Regions from separate parts of the Homo sapiens genome. Here region 2 is linked to region 1. The links are contacts of gene promoters, found by promoter capture Hi-C in blood cells and fetal thymus (Javierre and others, 2016). All regions are on one chromosome and are shown on one strand. Each heading gives the region's core, a stretch centred on a gene start or on the middle of the fragment in contact. The rest is flanking DNA. Distances are from core to core; before and after follow the strand shown.

Region 1 (5,397 bases), core at 244-2,743:
AAATCTATTTGGATAAAACGCGTGTGACCCAGACAGTTGGCATCTGGCCCAAACGCGTTGCACCGGCAGCTCAAATAAAAACAAGAGTAAGAAACTCACTCTCTTGTTCCCTCTCAGTGCGCTTTCTCAATCTCTCGCTCACTTTTCCTCTAGTACAGGGAAAGAAAGCATCAAAGACAGGAATTGTAGCACATATTATCAGAAAGAGGCTTCCCAATACCCCATTCCTGCACTCTCACTCTCCCTCCTCAATCCCTGAACTTTGGTCCCATACACCATATATACAGACCTACCCCGATAAACAAGGCTCCGGAGGGTTATGAGTCTAGCACGTCCCAAGTGGCCAAAAGTAAATCAAAAACACACGTTTCCATCTCTTTGATTAGCCTATTAAGAGCTTAACATGTCCTAGAGCATCGGGGCTACAGCTAGCACATTAATGCTACCCTCTGAGCCCAGGCATAAAATATGCACTTGTCTGAAGACTTAACGACACTGACATGAAACTACAAAATGCATAAGACTTTTCTGTAAGAAAACTGGAAATCAATTTAAAACACACACATCATTATTACCTTCCGGATTACTATTTGGTGATCAGTTAAAAGATTACAATAATCATAATCAAGTCCACTTCACAAAACATGTATTGTATATTCATAAAATAAACGTATTTTTTTTGCATCATAAAATAACTGCAAGTCCCAGAATTCTACAACCCCCGACAAGTCTGGAGTTAAAAAGATATCTATTTGTAAAATGAGTTCAGTCAAGCTCACTCATTGCCATTAAAAAAAAAAAAAAAAACACACACACAGAAAAAAAGTTTTCTAAGCGTTATTCGGAAGACAAGCAAAGCACAAGTTGTTGGTTTAAAAAAAAAAAGCTCCATTGAATATTGTTAAGTCTTCCTTACCGTTTTCATCTTCAAATTCTGATAAAAAGTAAGTTTCAGACAATAGAGATTGCACTGGACGACTCACGTACTCCCTCTCCTCTCTAACTTTTTTTAATTTTTTTTATTTTTTTATTTTTTGCCCCCCTTTGCAAAGCCACACCAGCCAGTTATTCTGCAGCCAGAATAAAACCCTATGGTCTGGCTAACCCGGGCTTTAGAGAACTGACTTTCCGATTTGGCAGAATAAGAGATGCCTTCAATACATCTAGGCTATCACTCTGAGATGCTGCCTTTGCAAACCCCCTTTCTCTCCCTCCCCACCCCCCAAAAAAGGAAAGGAAAAGAAAGAAAAGACGGGAAAAAAGACTTATTGGGGGTGGAAGTGGTGCCCTCTCTTCCTGGAAAGCTTAGTGCCTTTGCTATGCAAATAACATGTGCAGAGCATCAAAAGGTATCAGGAGAAAAGAAGACAAGAGGAGCAGGAAGGGCAGCAAAGTTTTGTTGAAGTAGCCCTAGATCTCACTACCGGCCCCCAGCCAACTTGAATTGCAGCAGGAGAAAATTTTGGCAGCTTTTCCTCGGAGGCAGAGCACACTGACGTCAGTCTGCAGATGTGCCTGGGCTGCGTCGGGTGCGCATGTGTCCTGGGTCGTCACGTGGAGGGGGAGGGGAGGTAGAGGTACAATCGGGGTAACCAACTACCAGCCATTCAGAAGGGCTTAGACAATGTCAACTTTTCCACACTGTGAATGAGAGAAATTCTGGCCTCTCTAACCTCTCTGTCCTATCTCATTCCGCCTCTTTTCCTCCTCCTCCTCTAAACTCTCTTAGAAATTCTAGCCTGGTTTGCTATTAGTTGTTTCTTGGAAAAATGAAGGGGGAGGGAGAAGGATGAATGACTTTAGATGGACTAATGTCACTGTTAAGATCTCTGGTGTCATTCTCCGTGTAATTTTATTTTTAAAATCCACACAATCAAAATGTTAAAACTTGCACGCAAACAGTGCCTCTGAGGAAACTTAAAGCTTAGATTCGTGCAGCAGGCACAAGACTCAGTAGCTACAAGTGTACAAAATGCCTGTGTTTTATACATACTTCAGCAAGTAAGGTTAGCACCAAAAGGGAAAGTAAACTAAAGTAAACTAATACCAGCACATTTTCCATTTGATTATCGACTTCAGGTTATGTGGAGCTTTAAAAGAAGAAGAAGAAGAAAAAAAAAAAGTAGGGGAGGAGGGAGCGGGGGAAGGAAGAGAGAAGCTTGCATTATTTCCAGATGAGGGTGAGACTGGATGGTGTTTTAAAGTGCAACCGGGAAAAGCCACAAGTGGAGTGTATTTTTTTAAGTCAGTCCATTGAATGAAACTTCAATGACTGCCCAAATGAAAATAAATCCGAAGTAGGACCCCACCACCAAAAAAAAAAAGGAAGGGAAAAAAACAGGAACCCTGCTGCGATCTCAAGATAAACAAACAAAACCTCAAAACTGGTTCTTCAACCTTCCCAATCCCACCCTCCCTCCCCCCTACACACAAGCTGCCAGTCCAGACTTTAAGGATAAAATACCGCTACAATGTAGCACTTTCACTTTCATTTGCTGAGAATGAAAGCCGCTGGGGAGAAAATGCCCAGTGTTTTCCATGTCCTAAGCAAGCAAACAAAGTCTGGCACATACATCGGAAACAGGAAAAAATGTGAAAATAGCTCAGGACAAATGTTGCCTTTCAACGGTGTAATCTGCTGCATCATTTATCTGTCTCTACCATTGAGTGTAGAATAGGGAGCTGTTTAAGAGTTTCCGAGGTTGGGGGCAGGGGAAAATTGACGCCTTGAAATTCCAGCCCTTAGTTAATGCCAAGTCAATTTCCGATGGTGAGAACCAGAAAGGAGAACTGGACCGGAGGGAAGGGGGTAGGAAGGATGATCTTTCTGAATACCAGCTCTTAAATATCAAGCTTCTGCTAACATTATTGCCCATTTGATTTTTTTTTTTCTTCCTACGCCGGAGGTAGTAGGTGTAATTCTTCTGGTGAATCTATGAATAGTTGGCTAAAAGGAGGCATGAATCAGACTGAGAACGTCCAAGAATACAGTTATTTCAATTCTTCTTCAAGGGTTGAAAGTGGAAAGCATCTGTCCACAGAGTAAATAGTCCTCATCCTGACCTTAATCAGTAGTATCTGGCTAAAAGCCATTTAAAATGTAGAAATCTGTTCAATAGTGGGCATTGAGTTTTAAATAAAGATGATTCATATGTATGTATGTATGTGTGCGTATTTGTATGTGTATATATATGTGTGTACATATATGTGAAATACATGAGGTAGCAAAATATAGCAATAATTGTAAACACCAAAAATAAGAAAAGTAGGCATCAAATGACTATTTAAATAGTGTTGAACCTTAACCTTCCTTAATTTTTCAAGTACTGGCAGTAAATAGGGACAGCCAGCACACACACAAAAAATAAAGGTATGAGCAGTAAACATCTATATAAGCTCTGAAAAGATTTTACCCTCAACTAAGATAAACTGCCCTACAAAGTAGCAGCTTGTAGAGGAGCTTACTTAGTGGGAGTGGACTTTGGCTAATTACTTATTCAAAGAGTGCCATCCTGTGTCTAAACAGAGTAATGAAATTTTTCCAACAGATTCTGTCTCCAAGTTGATTGGGTCAAGAATACTGTGAATAATTGGTGAAAATTGATTAGGGTGGGAAATGGCGAACTGTCAATTTAACTTTATATATGTGTATATATATGTGTTTGTGTAAATGTTTTAACTGCATTGCAGAAAATTTCAAACATATACAAAAGTAAAAAAAAAAACAGTATAATGAACACTCATGTAGCCATCATCCAGTTTCAAGTGTCCAAGTGTGACCAACTTTGTTTCATCTATCATTTCATCAGATATCGTTTCATTATTTCCCTGTATTTCTAAAAGTACTAAAAAAATATACACCACTATTATTCTTAAAACATTAATAACTCATGTCATCAAATATTGTACTCAGATTTCCCAATTGCAAAAAGGGCTTTAAAAAATGCCTTTTTATTAGAATCAAGATCCATACATTGCAATGGCTCCATCTTTTCTTAATAAACTTTTAATTGAAAATATTCATGCAGAAAAATGTATAATTACATAGTTTGATGACAAGTGTCCAGTCTAATGAATTTTCACAAGTCAACTGGCCCATGTAACCGCCATTCTCTTGTCTCTTTTTAAAATTTTTATTATCTATTTACTTATTTAAATTGACTAATAAAAAATACATATATTTTAGCTGGAACTACAGGCATGAACCACCATCCCCAGCTAAGTTTTTATTTTTGTAGAGATAGGGTCTCCCTGTTGCCCAGGCTGGTCACGAACTCAGCCTCAAGTGATCCTCCTGTGTCCGGAATTTGGTGGGTTCTTGGTCTCACTGACTTCCAGAATGAAGCTGCGGACTCTCAGGTGAGTGTTACAGTTCTTAAAGGCAGCGTGTCCGGAGTTTGTTCCTTCTGATGTTCAGATGTGTTCGGCCTTCTGGTGGGTTCGTGGTCTCGCTGGCTCAGGAGTGAAGCTGCAGACCTTCGCTGTGAGTGTTACAGCTCATAAATGCAGTGTGGACCCAAACAGTGAGCAGCAGCAAGATTTACTGCAAAGAGCGAAAGAACAAAGCTTCCACGGTGTGGAACGGGACCCGAGCAGGTTGCCACTGCTGGCCCAGGCAGCCTGCTTTTATTCTCTTATCTGGCCCCACCCACATCCTGCTGATTGGTAGAGCCCAGTGGTCTGTTTTGACAGGGTGCTGATTGGTGCGTTTACAATCCCTGAGCTAGACACAAAGGTTCTCCACCTCCCCACCAGATTAGCTAGATACAGAGTGTCCACATAAAGGTTCTCCAAGGCCCCACCAGAGTAGCTAGATACAGAGTGTCTATTGGTGCATTCACAAACCCTGAGCTAGACACAGGGTGCTGATTGGTGTGTTTACAAACCTTGAGCTAGATACAGAGTGCCCATTGGTGTATTTACAATCCCTTAGCTAGACAAAAAGGTTCTCCAAGTCCCCACCAGACCCAGGAGCCCAGCTGGCTTCACCCAGTGGATCCCGCACCGGGGCTGCAGGTGGAGCTGCCTGCCAGTCTCGCCCCTTGTGCCCGCACTCCTCGGCCCTTGGGTGGTTGACTGGGCGCCCTGGAGCAGCGGGCAGTGCTCGTCGGGGAGGCTCAGGCAGCACAGGAGCCCACGGAGGCCGGGGGGGAGGCTCAGGCGTGGCAGGCTGCAGGCCCCAGCCCTGCCCTGCGGGAAGGCAGCTAAGACCCCGCGAGAAATTGAGCACAGCAGCTGCTGGCCCAGGTGCTAAGCCCCTCACTGCCCGGGGCCAGTGGGGCCGGCGGGCTGCTCCGAGTGCAGGGTCTGCCGAGCCCACGCCCACCCGGAACTCGCACTGGCCTGCAAGCACCGCACGCAGCGCCGGTTCCCGCCTGCACCTCTCCCTCCACACCT
Region 2 (5,443 bases), core at 386-2,885, 1.3 Mb before region 1:
CCTTGAGATGCAACTGCGAATTCTAAAGTAGTCACAAAGGAGCAAGCATGATTGGCTCTGTTAGATTTTCTTCAGTTGATCTAGGTTGGGGTGTGTGTGTGTGTGTGTGTGTGTGTGTGTGTGTGTGTGTGTACATACATATTTATATCTCAAGTTATTCCAGGGTCAAAAACTATTGAAAGGAAGAGAGGTAAACAAAAGGAATTTAAAGAGGTTTAGACTTGAGTTGATAGAGTCCTTGACAAAGGATTTATTAACAGCAGCAAAGAAAATTCTGATGGATGTTATAGAGGGAAAGACAGCTGATTTCAGTGGTTGCCAGGCCAACAAAGGTAGATAAAGAACCATACTGGGAGAGAGAAAATATTTTGATCCTATGCTGTCCAACACCTAATATAGGCCCTGGCAGTAAAATGGTATAAATATTTATGTCCAAGTAATGTTTAGTTCATTTATATAGCTTTTCTTACCCTGCTATTGAGAGAATGAGAGTTTTGATTACGAGCAAGGGGGAAAGAGAATGGGAGGGAGAAGTTGTAGTGGTGAGGTGATGACAGCAGGTTAATATTTAATGAGCTTTATTGTATGCTAGGTACAGTGGGAGGTATTTTACTTGCATTACCAGATTTACATGAGCTACTAGGTCACTGGAGTATAGGAAAGGTCTGAGAAAAGAGCACTGACGTCCTCAGGCACTGGGGGGAAATGTCAGTTGGGAGGTAGGAGAACAGCAAAGATGCATGCTGTCTTTCCCAAGTGCTGTGGTTTGAACATGTCACCTCCAAAATGCATATGTTGCCTATGTGATAGTATTCACAGATGGGGCCTTTAAAGGATAATTAGGCCTGAGGACTCCTTCTTCATTAATGGAATTAAAGCCCTTTTGAAACAGGCTGTATACAGTGTTCGGCTAGCTTGCTCTCTTACCCTTCCACCTTCTGCCATGTGAGGATGCAGCAAGGAGGCCTTCACCACACCAAATGCTGGTCCCTTGACCTTGGGCTGCTGGCCTCCCAAACTGTGAGAAAATCATTTTCTTGTCTCAATAAATTACCCAGTCTTGGGCATTCTGTTACTAGCAACCCAAAAGGAATAAGATGCTAAGTTTTATGTAAAGCCAGCTTGTTAGGGGAAAAAATCAGAATCATCAGCTAGTCTCAGAGTAGTAACACACACAGAAAACTGGAACTAACCATTTTGGTCTGAGCTTAGTGCTAGCTGTGTTTGATGAATAGAACTAGGTGATGGCTTCAGCTCTTTTGGCCTTACGCATAGGAAAAACTATCTTTTTTTCATTCTAAATCTGCACATTTGGCCCGGCCGCCCCGTCTGGGAAGTGTGGAGCGCCTCTGCCCAGCCGCCCCGTCTGGGAAGTGAGGAGCGCCTCTGCCCGGCCGCCCTGTCTGGGAAGTGAGGAGCGCCTCTGCCTGGCCGCCCATCGTCTGGGATGTGAGGAGCGCCTCTGCCCAGCCGGCCATCGTCTGGGATGTGAGGAGTGCCTCTGCCTGGCCGCCCTCCGTCTGGGAGGTGAGGAGCGCCTCTGCCCGGCCGCCCTTCGTCTGGGAGGTGAGGAGCGCCTCTGCCTGGCTGCCCCGTCTGGGAGGAAGTGAGCGCCTCTGCCTAGCCGCCCTGTCTGGGAGGTGAGGAGCGTCTCTGCCCGGCCGCCCCGTCTGGGAAGTGAGGAGCGCCTCTGCCCGGCTGCCCCGTCTGGGAAGTGAGGAGCGCCTCTGCCTGGCCGCCCCGTCTGGGAAGTGAGGAGCGCCTCTGCCTGGCCACCCTTCGTCTGAGATGTGAGGAGCACCTCTGCCCAGCCTCCCTTTGGCTGGGAGGTGAGGAGTGCCTCTGCCCGGCCGCCCCGTCTGGGATGAAGCGAGCGCCTCTGCCCGGCCGCCCCGTCTGGGAAGTGAGGAGTGCCTCTGCCCGGCCACCCCATCTGGCCACCCCATCTGGGAAGTGAGGAGCGCCTCTGCCCGGCTGCCCCGTCTGGGAAGTGAGGAGCGCCTCTGCCCGGCCGCCCCTTCTGGGAAGTGAGGAGCGCCTCTGCCCGGCCGCCCCGTCTGGGAAGTGAGGAGCGCCTCTGCCTGGCCGCCCCATCTGGGAAGTGAGGAGCGCCTCTGCCTGGCTGCCCCATCTGGGAAGTGAGGAGTGCCTCTGCCCGGCTGCCCCATCTGGGAGGTGTACCCCACAGCTCCGAAGAGGCAGCGACCATCGAGAACGGGCCATGATGACAATGGCGGTTTTGTCGAAAAGAAAAGGGGGAAATGTGGGGAAAAGAAAGATCAGATTGTTACTGTGTCTGTGTAGAAAGAAGTAGACATAGGAGACTCCATTTTGTTCTGTACTAAGAAAAATTCTTCTGCCTTGGGATGCTGTTGATCTATAACCTTACCCCCAACCCCATGCTCTCTGAAACATGTGCTGTGTCAACTCAGGGTTAAATGGATTAAGGGCGGTGCAAGATGTGCTTTGTTAAACAGATGCTTGAAGGCAGCATGCTCGTTAAGAGTCATCACCACTCCCTAATCTCAAGTACCCAGGGACACAAACACTGCTGAAGGCCGCAGGGACCTCTGCCTAGGAAAACCAGAGACCTTTGTTCACGTGTTTATCTGCTGACCTTCTCTCCATTATTATCCTATGACCCTGCCACATCCCCCTCTCTGAGAAACACCCAAGAATGATCAATAAATACTAAAAAAAAAAAAAGAAAAAATTTTTGTTGTTTTAAGCCACATTTGTGATATTTTGCTACAGCAGCCACAGCACAGATATAGCTGGTAACAGAGTTCTTTAGCCTCCAAAATACAAGCCTGGGGTAAATAACTATTGAATTTGGCCACATGGAAATCAGGAAGAATGTAATAAGCATCATCGATGGATGGGATGACCTGGGAGATCGTGGCAAGTTTAAAGCTAATTGGAAGTTGGCAACCAAAAAGTCCTGTCTTGCAAATTGCCAGGAAATTGCCAAGAAAACCTTTAGAAAACATGATTAAAGATGGAGAAACCCGGCTGACTCCCTGGTTTCTGAAGAGGTGCTTAGGCATTTAAATGAGACTGACGAGACTTCACACTGTACCCTTCAGAAGGGCAGACACTCACGAGATCGTCAACCACGGCTCCCTCGCTGGGAGGCAGACACAGAGCTGGAGGCAGCGGCCACAAACTAGGTGGGCAGAGAGGCGTCAGCATCGGGACTTGCAGGAGGCCCTGGGAAGGAACAGGCAGCGGTGGGGCCTGGACAGCCTTGGGGAAAGGAAGTTACTTGGAGGAGACCAGGGGCTTGCATTTGGGCCAAAACCAAGGACGAGATCAGCTGGTCCCAGGGAACTCTGGAGCCCAGCACCCCACCATGGGTGCAGGGGCCTGACAACCCAACAGAAGGCTGTGGGTACCGGGCACCAGCCTGTGGGGGGTCTGAAGGCTGCTGCCCAGCCACACATGTCCTGGTCCCGAACAAAGGGTTCAAGAGGCACCTGGAGCCCCGCCCTCCTCAGAGCAGCCTCTTAGCCTCAGCTGGTTGTTGGCCTTTGGTCACCCCACATGCCCTGACAGTGGGGCCTGGCCTCAGAAAGGGGCCCCTCCATTTGTACTTTCTATCTGATCCTTGACACAGTGCTAACACCAAAGACCAAACCCGAATCTTGGTTCACATACTCTGCAAAGAAATGACTAAGACTAGTTCTTCTGGAGGTCAGTTTTAGAACATGTTTATTCTAACTTAATTCTGCCTTATCTCTGTGCACCAAGAAAACTATCTGCACATGTGTAGTAAAATGTGAAGGTACCTTCATTTTGTTTGTACACTAAACTTTTAAGAAATATCTCACTTTTAAAATAAATAAATAAATAAAAAATAAATCTGCACATTTGGTTTTATTTACCATGTCAACCAAGATGTACACTGCCAACCTGTTTTTCTCTCTCATTGCTCCATGTCTGCCCTTACCCATTTTTAAAACCATAGTCACTTGCTGGTAGTGCTTCCTTGTCCTGCCTTGTCCCATGTGGAGATGCAAATCTCACCTACTCCTCTCACGTGTGGAGACCTTACAATATCAGCCTCCATGTGCCCCCAAACTTGGGAGGTACCTGGAATCCTCTCCTTGGCTCAGCATACCAACTGTAATTATCACCTGGGATTCCTTTTTACAAAGTAATATTTTAAAGTTAATATTTAATCTTAGAAGCAATATAATAGTGTCAGAGGGCTGAAAACTGAAAATATATGTAAGCATCAATCATTAGGAGGCCAAATTTGGTCAGGCACGGTGGCTCTTGCCTGAAATCCTAGCCTTTGGGAGGCTGACGCAAGAGGACTGCTTGAGCCCAGGAGTTCAAGGCCAGCTGGAGCAACATAGTGAGACCCCCATCTCTACAAAAAATGTATACTTAGCTGGGCATGGTTATGCAAGCCTATAGTCCCAGCTACTGGAGAGGATGAGGTGGGAGGATCGCTTGAGTCCGGGAGGTTGAGACTGCAGTAAGCCATGATGGTACCATTGCACCCCATCCTGGATGACAGAACAATACCCTGTCTCAAAAATAAAATAAAATGCCAAATTTGAGAGCGTTGTTATCTATGAAGGGGAAGGAGAATGTAATCTGGAATGCTATTAATTATGTTTTATTTCTTAAGCTGGGCAGTATTATCACAGATGTTATTTTCTGTTCTATTTTATGTCTCCAGTATTTTGTAAAACGTTAAAAAAATCATTATAAGTCATTACCCTAATATTATACCCTTTTTATTCATTTCTTGGTGCAGAAGCTTAGATCACTCACCTTTGTTCTCCTTGTAAAGCCAGAGGGAAAATCTCCAACAGACCATATAGCCAAGTATTATTTTACCTAAGAGGCCCAATTTCAAAATAATGCTTTTAAGATAATCTATCAGAATAAAAATTGAATGATAATCCATGACCAAAACTTTCTATTACTGCTTTTTTTTTTTTTTTTTTTTTTTTGAGACAAGGTCTCACTCTGTCACCCAGGTTGGAGTGCAGTGGCGTGATCTCGGCTCACTGCAACTTCTGCCTCCTTAGCTCAAGTGATCCTCTCACCTCAGCCCCCCAAGTAGGTGCAACTACAGGCACACATCACCAAGCCCAGCTAAGTTATTGTGTATTTTTTGTAGAGATGCGGTCTCACTATATTGCCCAGGCTGGTCTTGAATTCCTGGACTCAAGTGACTCAGCCACCTCAGCCTCCCAAAGTGCTGGGATTACAGGCTTGAGGCACTGCACCTGGCCTAAAACTTTCTACTAAAAAATAATTACATATCTGTGCTGTCCTGAAATATGCTATTTAGCTCTTAAATTCTGTACTTTTGTGACCCTCTCTGAAGTGCTGGTTTATTAACGGTGAAATGGATCATCTTGTTTTTCAACACTAGAGGGCACCAAATTCTCTTCTAGAGCAAAACAATCAATGTTTTCCACCA

What was found. The method cuts DNA at HindIII sites, captures the fragments that hold promoters and counts their contacts. A CHiCAGO score of 5 or more calls a contact.
Region 2: a fragment that was not itself captured here is called in contact with the fragment with the promoter of ADAMTS6 in region 1 in 1 of 17 cell types (M2 macrophages); the score reaches 5.4 in M2 macrophages.

The regions. Positions count from the first base shown.
Region 1 is chr5:65,480,427-65,485,823 of GRCh38, forward strand. ADAMTS6 (ADAM metallopeptidase with thrombospondin type 1 motif 6) reads right to left here and starts at 1,494. Exons shown (of 25, transcript NM_197941.4): 1 at 917-1,494. LOC124900986 reads right to left here. Exons shown (of 2, transcript XM_047417970.1): 2 at 3,915-5,397. RefSeq lists enhancers at 1,247-1,606, 1,374-1,873, 1,647-1,696, 4,745-5,253, 5,254-5,397. The HindIII fragment of the contact is 619 bases long and covers 1,303-1,921 here.
Region 2 is chr5:64,223,973-64,229,415 of GRCh38, forward strand. All of the region lies in intron 5 of RNF180 (ring finger protein 180), which reads left to right. Among named protein-coding and RNA genes, the nearest start is that of RNF180, 61 kb to the left of the region's middle. The HindIII fragment of the contact is 6,267 bases long and covers 1-4,769 here.